2 separate regions of the Homo sapiens genome follow, and region 2 is linked to region 1. Evidence: promoter capture Hi-C in human tissues and cell types (Jung and others, 2019). All regions are on one chromosome and are shown on one strand. The core of a region is centred on a gene start or on the middle of the fragment in contact, and the rest is flanking DNA. Distances in the headings are between cores, read along the strand shown. Region 1 holds the start of LRRFIP1 (LRR binding FLII interacting protein 1). Region 2 holds the start of PRLH (prolactin releasing hormone).

Region 1 (7,100 bases), core at 2,397-4,896:
GACCTCAGCCCAGAATTTTCCACTTACTCTCCAGAAGGCATGTTCTTGGGTGCCAGGCCCAAGTGGCAGCCCACTCCCTCCCACTTCCTTGAAGCCTCCCCAGTTTCCATTCAGGCCCCCACCTTCCCAAGTGTTTCAGGGAGGCCGGCTCTCCCCAGTCCCAGGATGAGTCTGACAGGTCACAGGGTAGACCCACCCCCCTTTGCCACAGGCACTGAGCCCCTAAGTCCATGGTCCTTGTCAAAGAGCTTGGTGCAGGAGTGGCCAGACAGACTCATGAAAGTTTACCAGGGAGATACTGCTAGCTCTCTGGAGAGAGCCACCAGAAGAGACGGTGTGTGGGCTCCACAGTGGCAGCCCGGGAAAGCCAAGGCCAGCTGGCCTCCATGAAGCAAGTCAGCCTGAGGATGAGGCCACCCACAGAGGATGGCCCAGCCCAACCAGCTGCGCAGGTGCTGTGGGAAAAAGAGGCCGGAGCCACTGGTGAGGCTGGCGGGGAATCCTGCCCTGCCTCCGGGCTTGCTGTGCTCCAGCCAATATACTTCCCCTTGTCAATGTCAGTCCAGTCAGGGTTTCTGTCCCAGCAGCCAAAGCATCTTGACTGGTACATACAGCCTTCAAGAACTCAAAATGCCACTTCCTCCAGGAAGCCACTTCTGAGACCACTGGCCGGCTGTGATTCTCTCTCATGTCCAAACCTTCAGAACACTGTCTACGCCCTTTTTATATCAGATCCCTTCCTGTCTTCGGTTAGCATTATTGATCTACAGGTGTCAACCCCTTTCTGACCCAACTCCTGGAGGGCAGGCAGGTCCTCGCCGGGTTCCTCCCTGACTCTCCAGTCTCCCCAGGACAGGAATTTGGATACCATGGCTTGTATCTGTTGAGTCAATGAGTGAATAAGAAAGTACTGAACCCAAGACGATTTTGTTGATTTCTATAAGAACCCTGATGAATTCAAGGAGTAGATATTTGCCATTTGAATAGTGATTTTCATTTTCACAGTTGAGAAATAGAAGTTAATTTGTACTAAAACATAAGATGTCACACCTGCTCCCTCCAACCCTATCAATCTGTGCTACTCAGCACTAGTAACAGCTGCACCTACGGCTGGGTTTTACCGGGAGGGGCGTGTAAGAAGCTCTCATATTTACCCACCGCCTAGTTACATACTTTACATTGCTACCCACTTTCTTTAATTCTGACAGCCAGGGGAGGTTTCTTCTTCTCCATTTTAGAGACGAGAAAACAGAGGCCCAGAGAAGAGTGAGTAACTCACCTTCCTAGGATGGCACAGCTGGCTAAGAACTATGTCATTTGAAAGCCCAGCTCTGACTCACAAGTCTATCTCTGTAACTCCAACTGCATCTCCCTCGGTGGGAGGGAGGACCTCAGGGCTCTCAACCCAAGGAGTGTTCCCTTGCCTTCCTTTTCAATCTATTTTATAAAAACCAGCAGATAGGCTGGGCGCAGTGGCTTACGCCTGTAATCCCAGCACTTTGAGAGGCCAAGGCGGGAAGATCACTTGAGGCCAGGAGTTTGAGACCAGCCTGGCCAACACGGTGAAACCCCGTCTCTATTAAAAATACAAAAATTAGCCGGGTGTGGTGGTGCGTGCCTGTAATCCCAGCTACTGGTGAGGCTGAGGCAGGAGGATCTCTTGAGCCTGGGAGGTGGAGGTTGCAGTGAGCCGAGATCATACCACTGTACTCCAGCCTGGGCAACAGAGTGAGACTGTGTTAAAAAAAAAAAAAAAAAAAAAAAAGAAGAAAGAAACACCAGTGGATAAAAGGCAAACTCTGGAAATTTTCATTCTTCTCATTCTTCTGCCCCATAACCACTGACATCAAGACAAGGCTTGCGATTCACTGGCCACCTCTGGCCCTTGCAGGGAACACTTGTAAGGCACTGTGGTCAAATGCATACATAAGTGACTGTCTTCACAGGAGGGAGTTATACTCAAGCTACTATATTTAGCAAATGTCTATATTTAGCCAAAGGTCCTTTAAATGCCTTGTACTTCTTTTGTTTATTAATTAATGTAACAGACATAGACAAACACCTAGTATGTGCCTGGCTCTGTGCTGAGCTCTTGGGATACAAAAGTAAGATATTTCCTGTCTGGGTGTCACCTTCTACAGGTGGACAAATAATGATAAGGTATCCTGACTGCCATGCCAGGCGCGGGCATGCCATGGAGGGCCGTGGAGCCAGGGAGACTTAGGCCTGGTGCGATGTGAGAGGGCTGAGTCTGGAAGGTCTCCTGGAGGTCACAGTGGGCTTCCAGGAATGAATAAGGGTTTGCCTGGAAAGCCCTTTTCTGTATCATACAGAGAAAAACAGAAGTCTTTATTCACTCAGTAGTCAACAAATACTGAGTGACTGCCACATGTCCGTAAGAGCAAAATCAGGTATTTACAACTACAAACACCTAAGGATTGGTTACAGAGTAGATCCCCCAGAATATCTGACGGATACAGCCAGACACCACAGTCCAAATGGCTTGGAGGTGTTTCCTGTGGGAAGAATCACATGTGGAAAAGCCAACACGGAAAAGAACCTGTAAGGCGGGTTACAAGGCAGAGACTTTCTTTGCATTCATACACCCACCTGGCACACAGTTCAAATGGTACAAAGGGAACACAGTCAAAAATTAAGCTTCCTTTGTCCCCCTGGGGCCGCAACCTATTGGCTCCCCTTTTCCCAAGCTGCTGCTCTCTGTCCCTGTACGGCTTTCTGGATGTCATGTACATTCTTTAGCCTTAAGGTAGAATCCTTGCGGAAGGAAAAAAAAAAAGGCATTTGTACAAATACCCATTCTAGTGCGCCTTCAATTTGTCACAGGTAAAGTTCATCACCAAACATGATCTTAGTTACAATAAACTCTGTCCAGGAAACTTTAATGAAGACGTTTCAGTGTGCCTGGACCCGTTTCCAGGCTCAGTCCTGAAAGAAAAATCACAGTGATCCCCAAGTTCATCTCTGAGCTGCACCTTGAGTGACATCGATGGATGGATGACAAATGGTCACCTGAGCGACTCGGCCATTTCAGCAGGGCCATGTGGCCTCCGGCGACCGTCCACTGCCTCCAGGTCGGGCCTAAGCCCCCGCCTCCTCCCATGCCGCACAACAAAGCGGGGCGCTCGCCCCCACCCGGCCAGCCCGGGCCACCTCGCGCGCTGGCGGCGCCCGGCTCCTCTCCCGAGGGCGCAGCGGCCGACGGTGGCCGGGGTGGGGGAGGGCGCGCAGCGTCGCGGGCTGGGCCCGGGGCTGGAGAACGGGTGCGGGGTCCGCAGGCCTCGGAGATCGGGGCCGGGGCGCAGCGCCTGGGGATCAGCGCCCCGGCGCGCGCCTGCCCGGCCCACCCGCCTGGAGCCGGACGCGCAGTGGCACAGACGCACAGCGGGACAGACGGACGCCGGAGAGACCCTGACAGCCGTCCGGCCCCCGCGCCCGCCCGGCGCCCCCCGGCTGCCCTCCCGGAGCGCTCACCTCCCGCGCGATCTGGTTGAGCGCGTCGTCCTCCGCCGTGAGCCGCTCCCGGTTGGGGAGCCGCTTGCGCCCCGATCCCTGGGTGCCCATGTCCATCGACCGCGTCGCCCGCAGCTGCCGCGGGGCCCGTTGCTCCAGCCGCTCGCGCCGCCCCGGCCCGGCCCCGGCCCCGGCCCCTCCCTCCGCCGCGGCGTCATGGCGTCAGCGGGCGCTGGGCCGGGGACGCGGGGACGCGGGGGGACGGGGGCCGCGGGGACCCGGGGGAAGCCAGAGCCGGAGGTCCGCAGCGCGGGCCAGGGACTGCAGGGGCCAGGGACGGCGGGGCGGGGGACGGGGGCGGGGGGCGGAGACGCCAGGTGTCAGGGACGATGGGGGTCCGATACCACGGGGACGCTGCGGATGCCCAGGGCCGGGCACGCGGGACCTGAGGGACCGGGAGCCCCGGAGGGTGGACTTTGCGGGGACTGTTTGGCGGGCCGGTAATCGCGGAGCGACGCGCGCCAGGGCGGTGGGCACCGGTTGAGTGGGGACCTGAGCGGAGAGCGGGGGGGTAGGAAGGCTTTCAGAGGCCTGAGTTGCCTTGAGGGGTTTGCACGGAGGGGTGAGCACAGGATTTGGTTCAGCCTGGCGCTCCCCATTCCGCGGTGAGTCGGGGTGGAAGTCCCTCGCCGGGGTGAGAGCTAGGCTCTGGGGTCAGGCCGAGAGGTGCTCGGATCCGCCCGCCACCGCCGCTCCTGTGACCTTGGCCAGCCTCCTGGGCGCCGGCTTCACAGCGGCATGGTGTGGATGTGTGCGTTTCTGTCTTTACACGCGTGTTCTCCGTGCTAGCATCCATCCTTCTCCCCGCTGTCTGCCCCCTGAGATCAAGGACTTGTCACTTCTCTGGTGGGTCCCCAGCCTCTAGGATCGGGGCAGGTGCGTCGCAGCTCTCTCCTAGTTGTTGAAAAAGTAATGAACTTACCTGTGCTCTCTGAAGCTCACAGTCTATGCTCCAGAGGTGGATTTAAAAGTAAAGCAAATCGGAGGATTAGGTAGGGGTTAAAAGCCCCTGCCTAGGGCACGGCAGGAGCACCGGGTGGGAAAGTTACTGGTGTGTTTGGGGTATGGGGAGAACTTCAGTGTGGCTGGACCTGGGGAAGGATGGGAGGGAGGGTAGTGATGGTAGAGGAGAGGAGGCTGTACTGAAGTCACCTGTGATTTTTTTCCCCCAGTGATAAGGACAGTTAACATTTCGGTGTATTTCCCACCAAGTGGTGTGACCAGATTGCTTTGGATTCTTAAGGAGGTGGCCTGGAAGCTGTATGAAGGTGGGAAGAGGAAGAGGGCCCTTCCACCCACAGTGGCAGGGAAAGCTGTTGGAGGTTTCATTGCAGGGAAAAGACAGCGAGTCCAGTGACATGGGAGGGAGGGCAGATCCAGGTGACATTGCTCTGGGTGCCTGAGCTGACGCAGGTGGGTTGGCAGGGCTGACTGTGGCATTGTTCATGACTGAACTCCGGGAGCAGAAACTGCACCTGCACATTGTAGGCACTAAGGAAATAGGTGTTGACTGAATCTTCCAGGCCATATTTACATTACTTCAGAGGCCATACTCCTTAAGTGACATAGTCCTCCTTGGGGGAAACCTTGAGCCGTGGCCACTTGCACTGCCTTGGTCTTGCTGGTGGCTGCTCACTGTTTCCCAGCCCCTGGGGCACTGTGGGGACTGTGCGTCTTTGCCGAGGCTGGTCCCCATGAGTTCACTCATTCCTGCACCCACACCTGCTGCCTGCCAGCTGCTGAGCTGGAGGCTGGGGCATAGCTGTCCGAGAGGCAGACACGGCTGCTGCCTCTCAGGGCTGACTTGAGATGCCTGGAGCTCCTTAACTAAAGCCATATCCAAGTTCCAACGTCTCCTTTCTAAAAGAAGTCTCCCTTTGCTCCCTGTCCTTCATTGGAACTTTGAGCCACTTTTTGCTAACACCTAAATCCTCCATCCTGATGTGTTGAGGCCAGGAGGGCAGGCGCTGACCCCATCTTCCTCATCTTTAAGCCTTCACCAGGGACTGGCTGTGCCAGTTGCTTAGTGGAGTGCAGTGGTTGAACTTGTGGAACAGAGTTCAGTTCCCAACCCTCCTCCCCACTTTCCCTGTTGGATTGTTGTCCAGAGACAGGAGATTCACTGCCGTGGGGACTGGCCAGAGGTGTGTCTGAACAGCTCCCGCTGGTAGACAGTGTTCTCGGACACTGTGGTGAATTCAGCTTCCTGCCCCTCCCCCATCATCTGTCCACTTCCAGAAAAGAGCCGCCTTTCAGAAATCATCAGAAACAACATTGCTGGGTCCTCCCATGACCCCATGACATAACAACTTCCTGGCTACAGTCCTCTTCCCCTGGCGATGTGCTCTCAGAGTGGACCGGTTCTCACTTCAGAGTCAGTTTCCGCCTCTAAATGGAAATACGGGTGCCCACTGTCTTAGTTCCTTTGTGCTGCTGTAACAGAACGCCTTAGACAGGGTCATTTATAAAACCACGGAAATGTATTGTTCACAGCTGTGGAGGCTGGGAAGTCCAGCATCAAGCCTCCAGCAGAATCAGTGTCTGGTTGAGGCCCATTCCTCACAGATGGTGCCTTCTGTGTGTCATCTCATGGTGGAAGACGGGCTCCCTCCAGGCTTTTGTGTAAGGGCACTCATCGCGTTCATGAGGTCTCTGCTTCAGGACCTGGTCACCTGCAGGCCCCACCTTGCATTGAGGGTTAGGTTTTGACATATGAATGGGGGGGCCACCGCCATCCAGACCATGGCCTCTACCTTGTCAGGGTAGGGACAGTATTCTAGGCAAGAGCCCTTCCAGGGCTTCACACACAGGCAATCGATCAATCATCCTTACAGCTCCTGTCCTCAAAGGCCCAGGTCTGGAATGAATGGTGAACAGCAGTTCCTGTCTGGGCAGAGGGGAGCTAGACAGAGGTATCAGGCAGCTTGGTGGGTCTTCTCCGTGCTTGGGGTGCCTCCTGGAGGAAGATAAAGACCTGCAAGACTCCATCATGCTGATCCATGGGTTCACCGAAAAATTGTGGCTTTTCCTCCACCCTTGACCGTCGGCCCTCCCTGCGTGGAAGTGCATGAGCCTGTTTCCACTGAGAAGACTGGCCTCTGCCACCAGCACTACTGACCCCTCCCATCTAGCCCTTTTCCTATTCCAGATGGTGACACTACCCACCAGGGCTTACTTCAGAGCAGGAAATTGAGAAACTATATCACAGATCTGATGTCCAGGGCCAGAGAATTAACATGTTCATCTCCAAGCCTGGTACCAAGTCCCTTCACAAAAATACAGATGCCACCTTCAGGAAGCCTCCACGAGAAAGTGGAGGCAGCCAGGGAAGCCTTGGCAAGGGAAACCACACAGCGGCGCCGTCCCCAGCGCAAGTTTGCCTTGGTTCAGGAGCTCAGTGGGCAAGCCCTGGGGGCTGGCTGGGAAAGGAAGTTGATGAGCAGCTACGGAGGGGCGTCCAGTCTGCATGAGGACTCAGAGCTTCTCAGGCAGAGAGCCATCTGAGCCATCATGTGGGCCATAACGTGACTCACTCTGGGTCCATTGAGAGCATCATCCGCGTGGGCCTA
Region 2 (7,100 bases), core at 1,807-4,306, 61 kb after region 1:
TATTGTGAAATTACTACAACGGTTTGTTCAGGTATGATGATTTTATGGCTATGTAGGAGACTGGCCTTATTCGTGGGAGAAGGATGCTGAAAATATGCTTCTAGTACATTCACTCTGTTCTTCAGCCACTGCCGTGGTCCAGTTCTAAGACGTTTCACCACCTCCAAAAGGGAACCCCCATATCCATTAAGCAGTCATCCCCCCACCCCTCTTCCCTATCCCCTGACAGCCATGAATCTGCTTCCATAGAATATGCAATGTCATACAACGTTTTTATATAAACAGAATCATACAACATTTGAATTCTTGTGCCTGGCTTCTTTCACTTAGCATGATGCTTCCAAGGTTCATCCGTGTTGTGGCATGTATCAGTGGTCCATTCCTTTTCCTGGCTGAGTAATATTCCATTGCATGGATAGACCACGCTGTGTTTTTCTATTCTTCTGTTGATGGGTGTTATGAAATGTTTGTGTCCCCGCCACTGCAAATTTATATGTTGAAATCCTCCCCCCATTATGGTGGTATTAGGAGATCGGGTCTTTGGGAGGAGATTAGGTCATGAAGGTGGAACCCTCATGGATGAAATTAGTGCCCTCATAAGAAGAGGCTAGAGAGCTTGCTTCCTGTTTCTGCTCTCTGCCATGTGAGGATACAACGAGAAGACGGTGTCTGTCAACCAGGAAGATGGTGTCGGATCAAGGTGTCGGATCAGCCAGCACCTTGATCTTGGACTTCCTGCCCCCAGAACTGTGAGGAGTGAGTGTTTACTGGCTGAGCCTCTGTGCCTATGCTATCTTATTAGAGCAGCCCGAACTGACTAAGGCAATGGGCATTCAGGTCATGTCCACCCTTTGGCTACTTGGAAGGGTGCTGCTGTAAACGCTGCTGTGATGTGCTGAGCACCTGCCCTCAGTTCTCCAGGGTCTACACCTGGGGCGAATTGTTGGGTCGTTTGATAACTCCGTGTTTAACTTTTTGAGGGCTGTGGCCTCTTTAAGGCCTGACCCAGCCCCTGCTGCCTTCGGAACAGACCTTGCCCCCCTTCCTGTTCCTGCAGGCTCACTCTACCCTGGCGAGGTGGCTCAGGGCTGGAGGGGCTCCCCTGTAGCTGGGGAGGTGCAGTCACCCCAACTCAGCCCCGTGTAGGTGGTCTGGGCCTTGCCACTGGCCCCTCTGAGCATGGATGGCCAAGAGGGCTGTGGTCAGGATGGGCTCCTGAGATCAGCATCTGCAGGCAGGGTCCAGCAAGAGTCCAGGCCAAGCTTTGGGTTGGAGGGAGCTGGTGAAGCCTGTTACATGGCTGGGTGGAGGATGGGCCTTGGGGAAGGGGCTTGCACTCACAGAGCACCCACCCTGTGCCGGCAGGCGTGCAGGTGCCACGCCCACGGAGCTGAGGAATGAGGTAAGCGTTGCTGTTCTGTGGCATGCAGTTGTGGAAACTGAGGCTCAGTGATTCACGGGATGAACTCAGTCTCCCAGGTGGTGCAAGTGTGCCCCCAATGCCAACCTAAGCTACACCTGAGGCAGGATGTGGAGACATCCCCGTGTGATTTGAAAGGGACGCACGTGGCGTGGGAGCAATCTAGGTTCAAGTCTCCCTGCCATGGGTCAGAAACAATCCATGATGCATCTTCCCTGAGTAAGAGGGAGGCAAGACAGACTGCAATGAGAGGACTAGCAGTTGTAGGGGTTGCGGGGTGCAGGGATGAGTAGGGGGAGCCCAGAGGACTTCTAGGACAGTTAAACGACTCTGCGTGATGCCACATCGTGTTGTTGTACATTTGTGCAAACCCACAGGACGCACAGCGTGGAGAGTGGGCTCTGACATACGCTGGTTGGGGATGGGGATGTGTCAGTGTGGGTTCCTCGACTGGGACAAAAGCACCCTCGGTGGGGGTGTTGATCATGGGGGAGGCTGTGCGGATGTGGGGGAAGGGGGTGGATGGGAACTTTCTGTACCTTCTACTCAATTTTGCTGTGAACCTAAAGCTGCTCTGAAAAATAGTCTAAATAAAAAGGACTGAAGTTGAGGGGCTGCCCAGGGCTCAGGCTGGGGGCTGTGCTACCGTCCTATGGGGACAGTGTCCTGCAGAGTATGACGCGTGGCACCTCCTGGCCTTCTGCAGTGGACAGCCTGGGCAGCCACTCAGGGCAGCTTGGGTGTGGGGGTGGCTGTGGGCTGCCGGTGACCAAGGGTAGACCCAGCGCCCCAACTCAGTGCCAAGTGCCCTCTGCCAAGTCACAAAGCCTTTTCTTCCAAAGAAGTTGCTGGGCTCTGAGGTTCTTTCTAGTCTAATGTCCCAGGAGGGAACAACTTCAGAGTCACCACCACACAGTCGTGAATGTGTAACTGAAGACCAGAGCTTTTATTAGGATTGAAGGGAAAGGAGCCCGAAGGAGAGGAGAGGGTGGGGTGGGGGAGGCTCCAGAGTGAGTTTCTTGACAAGCTGGCTGTCAGCCATCCTGGGACGACATAGCACCGCCTTCCAGGGGGAAGCAGGTCAGCCGGGGTCGCAGGCCAGGCTTGGGGACGTCCCCCAGGGTTGCCCTCCTCCGACCGAAGCGGCCCACAGGCCTGATCCCGCGACTGGCGTACCAGGCAGGATTGATGTCAGGGGCTGGAAAGGAAAGAGCTGGAGCAGACCATGGGCACGTGTCCCCAGGGTGTGCTGTGCTCCCAGAGGCAGCGGGGCAGAGTGCACAGGCAGGGCCTCTCAGCCCAGTCGCCAGGCCATGCTGGGAGCCACCCGAGGAACAGGCACCCAGAGGTTCTGGCGAGGCCATTTCTGGGCGTGGGCTGGCTTTGGGAAGCAGGAGTTCAAAAAAGCACCAAGACTGACTTCCCTTTCCTCCCGCGCACCCCGTTCCTGCCAGGTTCTCGAGCGACCAGGCTGCACTAGGTTCTGGGGTGAGGCAGGGTGGGGTAAGGGAGGCTGACAGGGGTCCAGGCACTCACTGCGGATCTCCATGGAGTGCCGATGGGTACGACTTGCAGCTCCCCGCAGGGCCAGGCCCAGCATCAGCAGGCACAGGAGCCAGGCCCTCAGCACCTTCATCCCTTGGCTCCTCCGAGGAGGCCCCGCTGGAGGGGAGATCCAAATGAGGAGGACACGGCCTGGGGGAGAAGGGGCAGGAGCAGCGTCACACAGGCATCAGGGTGCGTGTGCACGGAGCTGGGACCTTGGGTAGAGTGAGCACTGTGTGTGAGAGAGAAGTATGTGCATGAGCCTGTGTGCATGTGAGTGCACAGCTGTGTATGTATATGTGTACAAGAGGGTGTGGTGTGTGCACATGGGTGCCTGTGTGTGTGTATGTGTGCAGATATGTGTGTGTATGTGTGTAGATGTGTGTATGTGTGCAGGTGTGTGTGTATGTGTGTAGATGTGTGTGTATGTGTGCAGATGTGTGTGAGTGTATGTGTGTAGATGTGTGTATGTGTGCAGATGTGTGTATGTGTGTAGATGTGTGTGTATGTGTGTAGATGTGTCTGTGTGTATTGTGTAGATGCGTGTGTATGTGTGCAGATGTGTCTGTGTGTAGATGTGTGTATGTGTGTAGGTTTGTGTGTATGTGTGTAGATGTGTGTGTATGTGTGCAGATGTGTGTGAGTGTGTGATGTGTGTATGTGTGCAGATGTGTGTGTGTGTAGATGTGTGTGTATGTGTGTAGTGTGTCTGTGTGTATTGGGTAGATGCGTGTGTATGTGTGCAGATGTGTCTGTGTGTAGATGTGTGTATGTGTGTAGGTTTGTGTGTATGTGTGTAGATGTGTGTGTGTAGATGTGTGTATGTGTAGGTGTGTGTAGTTGTGTGTGAGTGTATGTATGTGTGTGGATGTGTGTGTAGTTGTGTGAGTATGTGTGTAGATGTGTGTGTATGTGTAGATGTGTGTGTAGCTGTGTGTGTGTGTATGTGTGTAGATGTGTGTATGTGTGTAGATATGTGTGTAGATGTGTGTGTGTCGATGTGTGTGTGAGTGTGTGTAGATGTGTATGTGTGTAGGTGTGTGAGTGTACATGTGTAGATGTGTGTGTGAGTGTATGTGTGTATGAGTGTAGGTGTGTGAGTGTATGTGTGTAGATGTGTGTATGTATGTGTGTAGATGTGTATGTGTGTAGATGTGTGTGTAGATGTGTGTGTGTACGTGTGTAGATGTGTGTGAGTGTGTGTAGATGTGTATGAGTGTAGATGTGTGTGTATGTGTGTAGATGTGTGTGTAGTTGTGTGTGAGTGTATGTATGTGTGTAGATGTGTGTGAGTGTGTAGATGTGTATGTATGTGTGTAGATGTGCGCGTGCACATAGCCACATAGATCTCCACGTGTTCCTCTGATCTGTGCTGAGGTGGGAATAAGCACAGAAACAGCAGTTAAACCTGGCTCTCTGCATGGTCCCCCACCCGCCTGTGACCCCATTCTCTCCTCTGCGCAATGAGGTGTTAAGTGAGATGCTTCTGTGCGCGTCAGCCTCTAACGGGATCGGTCACATGTACATTGATGCTCATGATCAGAAAGCCCTCAGGAGGTGTGAGCTACGCGTTATAAAGGGGGGCTGTCATGGAACAGCCTTGGGTCCGTCTGTCCGCCTGTGTTAAGGGATCAGAAGGTGCAGCAGGCCTCTGCACGGCTGTGCATGTTGCACACCCAGGACAGCAGGTTTGTGGGGAGGTGCCCAGGGAGCTGCACAGGTGGAGGCAGCCCCTTGCTCAACCTCAGACATGGTTGGGGAGCTGGGGAGTGCCAAGCCTGGACCAGGCTCAGGGGCTGGAATCCGGTGCACGGCCCCTTCCCACATTCATCTCAGCGCCTCCTAATGCCTGGTTCCAGCCTGCCAGCCCAGCCCTGCTGGGGAATGTCAGCCGACAGCTGCGTGTCGTAGAATGAGTCTGCATCCTCTGCCCTAAGTAAGCCCACTCACCCTTGCCATGACGCTAGATCCAGTCTTCTGAGGCTCCAAGGTAAGCCTGTAGCATCTGGGACCTCTTCTCACAAGGCAGGGCCACTTCCTATCGGTGATGGGAGGAGGGGGCTGCCGTGGATGACACCAGGTGCATGGAAAGCCCCTTCCACCCCACTGGAGTGGAGGTGCTGAAATGCCTAAACAGCATCCATCATGGGAGACCTGGAAACACCTGCTGCAGGCACCCCTCCTCCTTCCTCCACCTGTGGCACTTTGGGTGCCATGGGAAGATGCCCGACAGCTCCATCTTGCTCTGGGAAGGATCCCCCTGCCGACCTTGACTTTCCAGCCCCTCCCTGAGCCCCACAGAAAGTGCTCTCCATCAGAACAATTTAAAATGCCTACACCTTTCCTTTTTAGAGACCTGGAGGGGCGTCCCATGCTAGGTGGGGTGGGGGGTTCCCCAGTCTAGAGGAAATGGAGGTGCCACCTTGAAGAGTGATAAAGAGATTCATCCCAGCAGGCTGGCCGTTTGCATTTCCTCTGGCACGGGACCCACGCCACCTGAGGGGTGTCCGAGAATGCTAACGATGCTCACTTGGCTCCTGATCCCCAAAGACCTGCCTCCCTGAGAGGTGGAGACTTTGGCCGGCTGCCCCGTGGGATTTCCTGGTCAGCGGAGTTGAATGGGACGTCTTTGTCTGGAGTCTCCACCATGGACAGCGCCGGAGCCTTGGTGCCCTGGGAGGGCAGGGTGGCTTTGGATGCAAGAACCCAGGGGCCAGCCGTCTCTGCCTCTCCTGCTTAGGCCTAGCCTCAGCTGCCAGGAGAGCAGGCAGGGTCTCAACCCGACCCACACTCAGACAGCAAGGGAAGATTTTACAAAGTAGCAAAGCAGAGGGCCCAAGCTCCAGCGCCTGGATGTGCAACTCACCGTTCTCGAGTGTGGTAGAGGAGCTGTCCTGGCTACGGGTGCAGTGGAGCCGAGGAGGCGGGAGCCTCTGTTCCCCTTTTATAGCCCCCGAGAGGACGAAGCCGGCACCCCCAGGTGCCCTCCCCCAAGCCAGCCTGTCTCCCTCACAGGGCGGCATCAGGAGCGAGCCTGTGTCTCTTCTCGTTCCTTTATTGAAAAAAAAAAACACAAAACAAAACTCATCAGCGATGCGATTTGTTCCTTCCTGGGTTATATAATTTCATTTGGACCAAGTGGTTTTAAAACACATTAGCTTCTCTTCTTCGTGCTCGCCTTCGGGCAGACTGCAGTGTCAAGTGTCCGCTGGGCCTCACAGATGGGGCTCCCGGACTCCTTCCAGTCCTCTCTCCCTGCCTTTAAATCACCGCATTCACATTCAAGGGAAAGGTGAGCAGGGACAGTCACCAAAGCCCAGCACTGCGGCTTTGTATCTTTGCGATCTTCTCGGTCCTCGTTCATTCACCTGCCTGACTGTCCTACCTGCATTTGTCGTGTGCACACCATGTCTTCCTCATTCTGTAACTTCCGCGCAGGGGCCATGCTAATCTTCTCTGTATCGGTCCAATTTTAGTATATGTGCTGCAGAAGCAAGCACTCTATAACTTACAACAGGTGGTTTCTAGACTTTTACAGTCTTTATAATTAATGTTTAACATAAACAAGTTTATTATTCTCATAAGACAAGCTTATTTTTTATTATAAAAGAAACAAATACATTTTTATTATTAAAGCAGTTCATATACATTTGGAAAAATATTAGTGCATACAACAAAATAGAAAAAATAGCACTGATCATGTTAAAGAAGCTGCTCGTGGCCAGGTGTGGTGGCTCATGCCTGTAATCCCAGCACATTGGAAGGCCGAGGCGGGTGGATCATGAGGTCAGGACTTCGAGAGCAGCCTAACCAACATGGTGAAACCCTGTCTCTACTAAAAATACAAAAATTAGCTGGGCATGGTGGCGCACGCCTGTAATCCCAGCTACTCAGGAGGCTGAGGCAGCAGAATCACTTGAACCCCCTGGAGGTGGAAGTTGCAGTGAGCTGGGATCCTGCCACTGAACTCCAGCCTGGGCGACAGAGCGATACTCTGTCTCAAAGAAAAAAAAAAAAAAAAAAGAAAGCCTCTCGCGTCTACATTTGATGCATTTTCTTCTAGTGAGCTTCCGACATATTTTCTGGGTAGATTGATCACATTTATACATGTTGAATTTCATTCTTTTCACTTAAC

The links. Contacts are between HindIII fragments. The study calls those that stand out against the background at their distance.
Region 2: the fragment with the promoter of PRLH here is called in contact with the fragment with the promoter of LRRFIP1 in region 1 in 2 of the 25 tissues and cell types used here (IMR-90 fibroblasts and ovary).

Annotation. Positions count from the first base shown.
Region 1 is chr2:237,624,133-237,631,232 of GRCh38, reverse strand. It overlaps LRRFIP1 (LRR binding FLII interacting protein 1), which reads right to left and starts at 3,646. Exons shown (of 24, transcript NM_001137550.2): 1 at 3,493-3,646. The coding sequence starts at 3,588. RefSeq lists an enhancer at 1-239. The HindIII fragment of the contact is 12,440 bases long and covers 117-7,100 here.
Region 2 is chr2:237,562,530-237,569,629 of GRCh38, reverse strand. It overlaps PRLH (prolactin releasing hormone), which reads right to left and starts at 3,056. Exons shown (of 2, transcript NM_015893.1): 1 at 2,957-3,056; 2 at 2,455-2,618. The coding sequence starts at 3,056. The coding sequence ends at 2,455. It also overlaps the pseudogene RNU6-1140P. RefSeq lists an enhancer at 5,707-6,207. The HindIII fragment of the contact is 10,563 bases long and covers 1-6,955 here.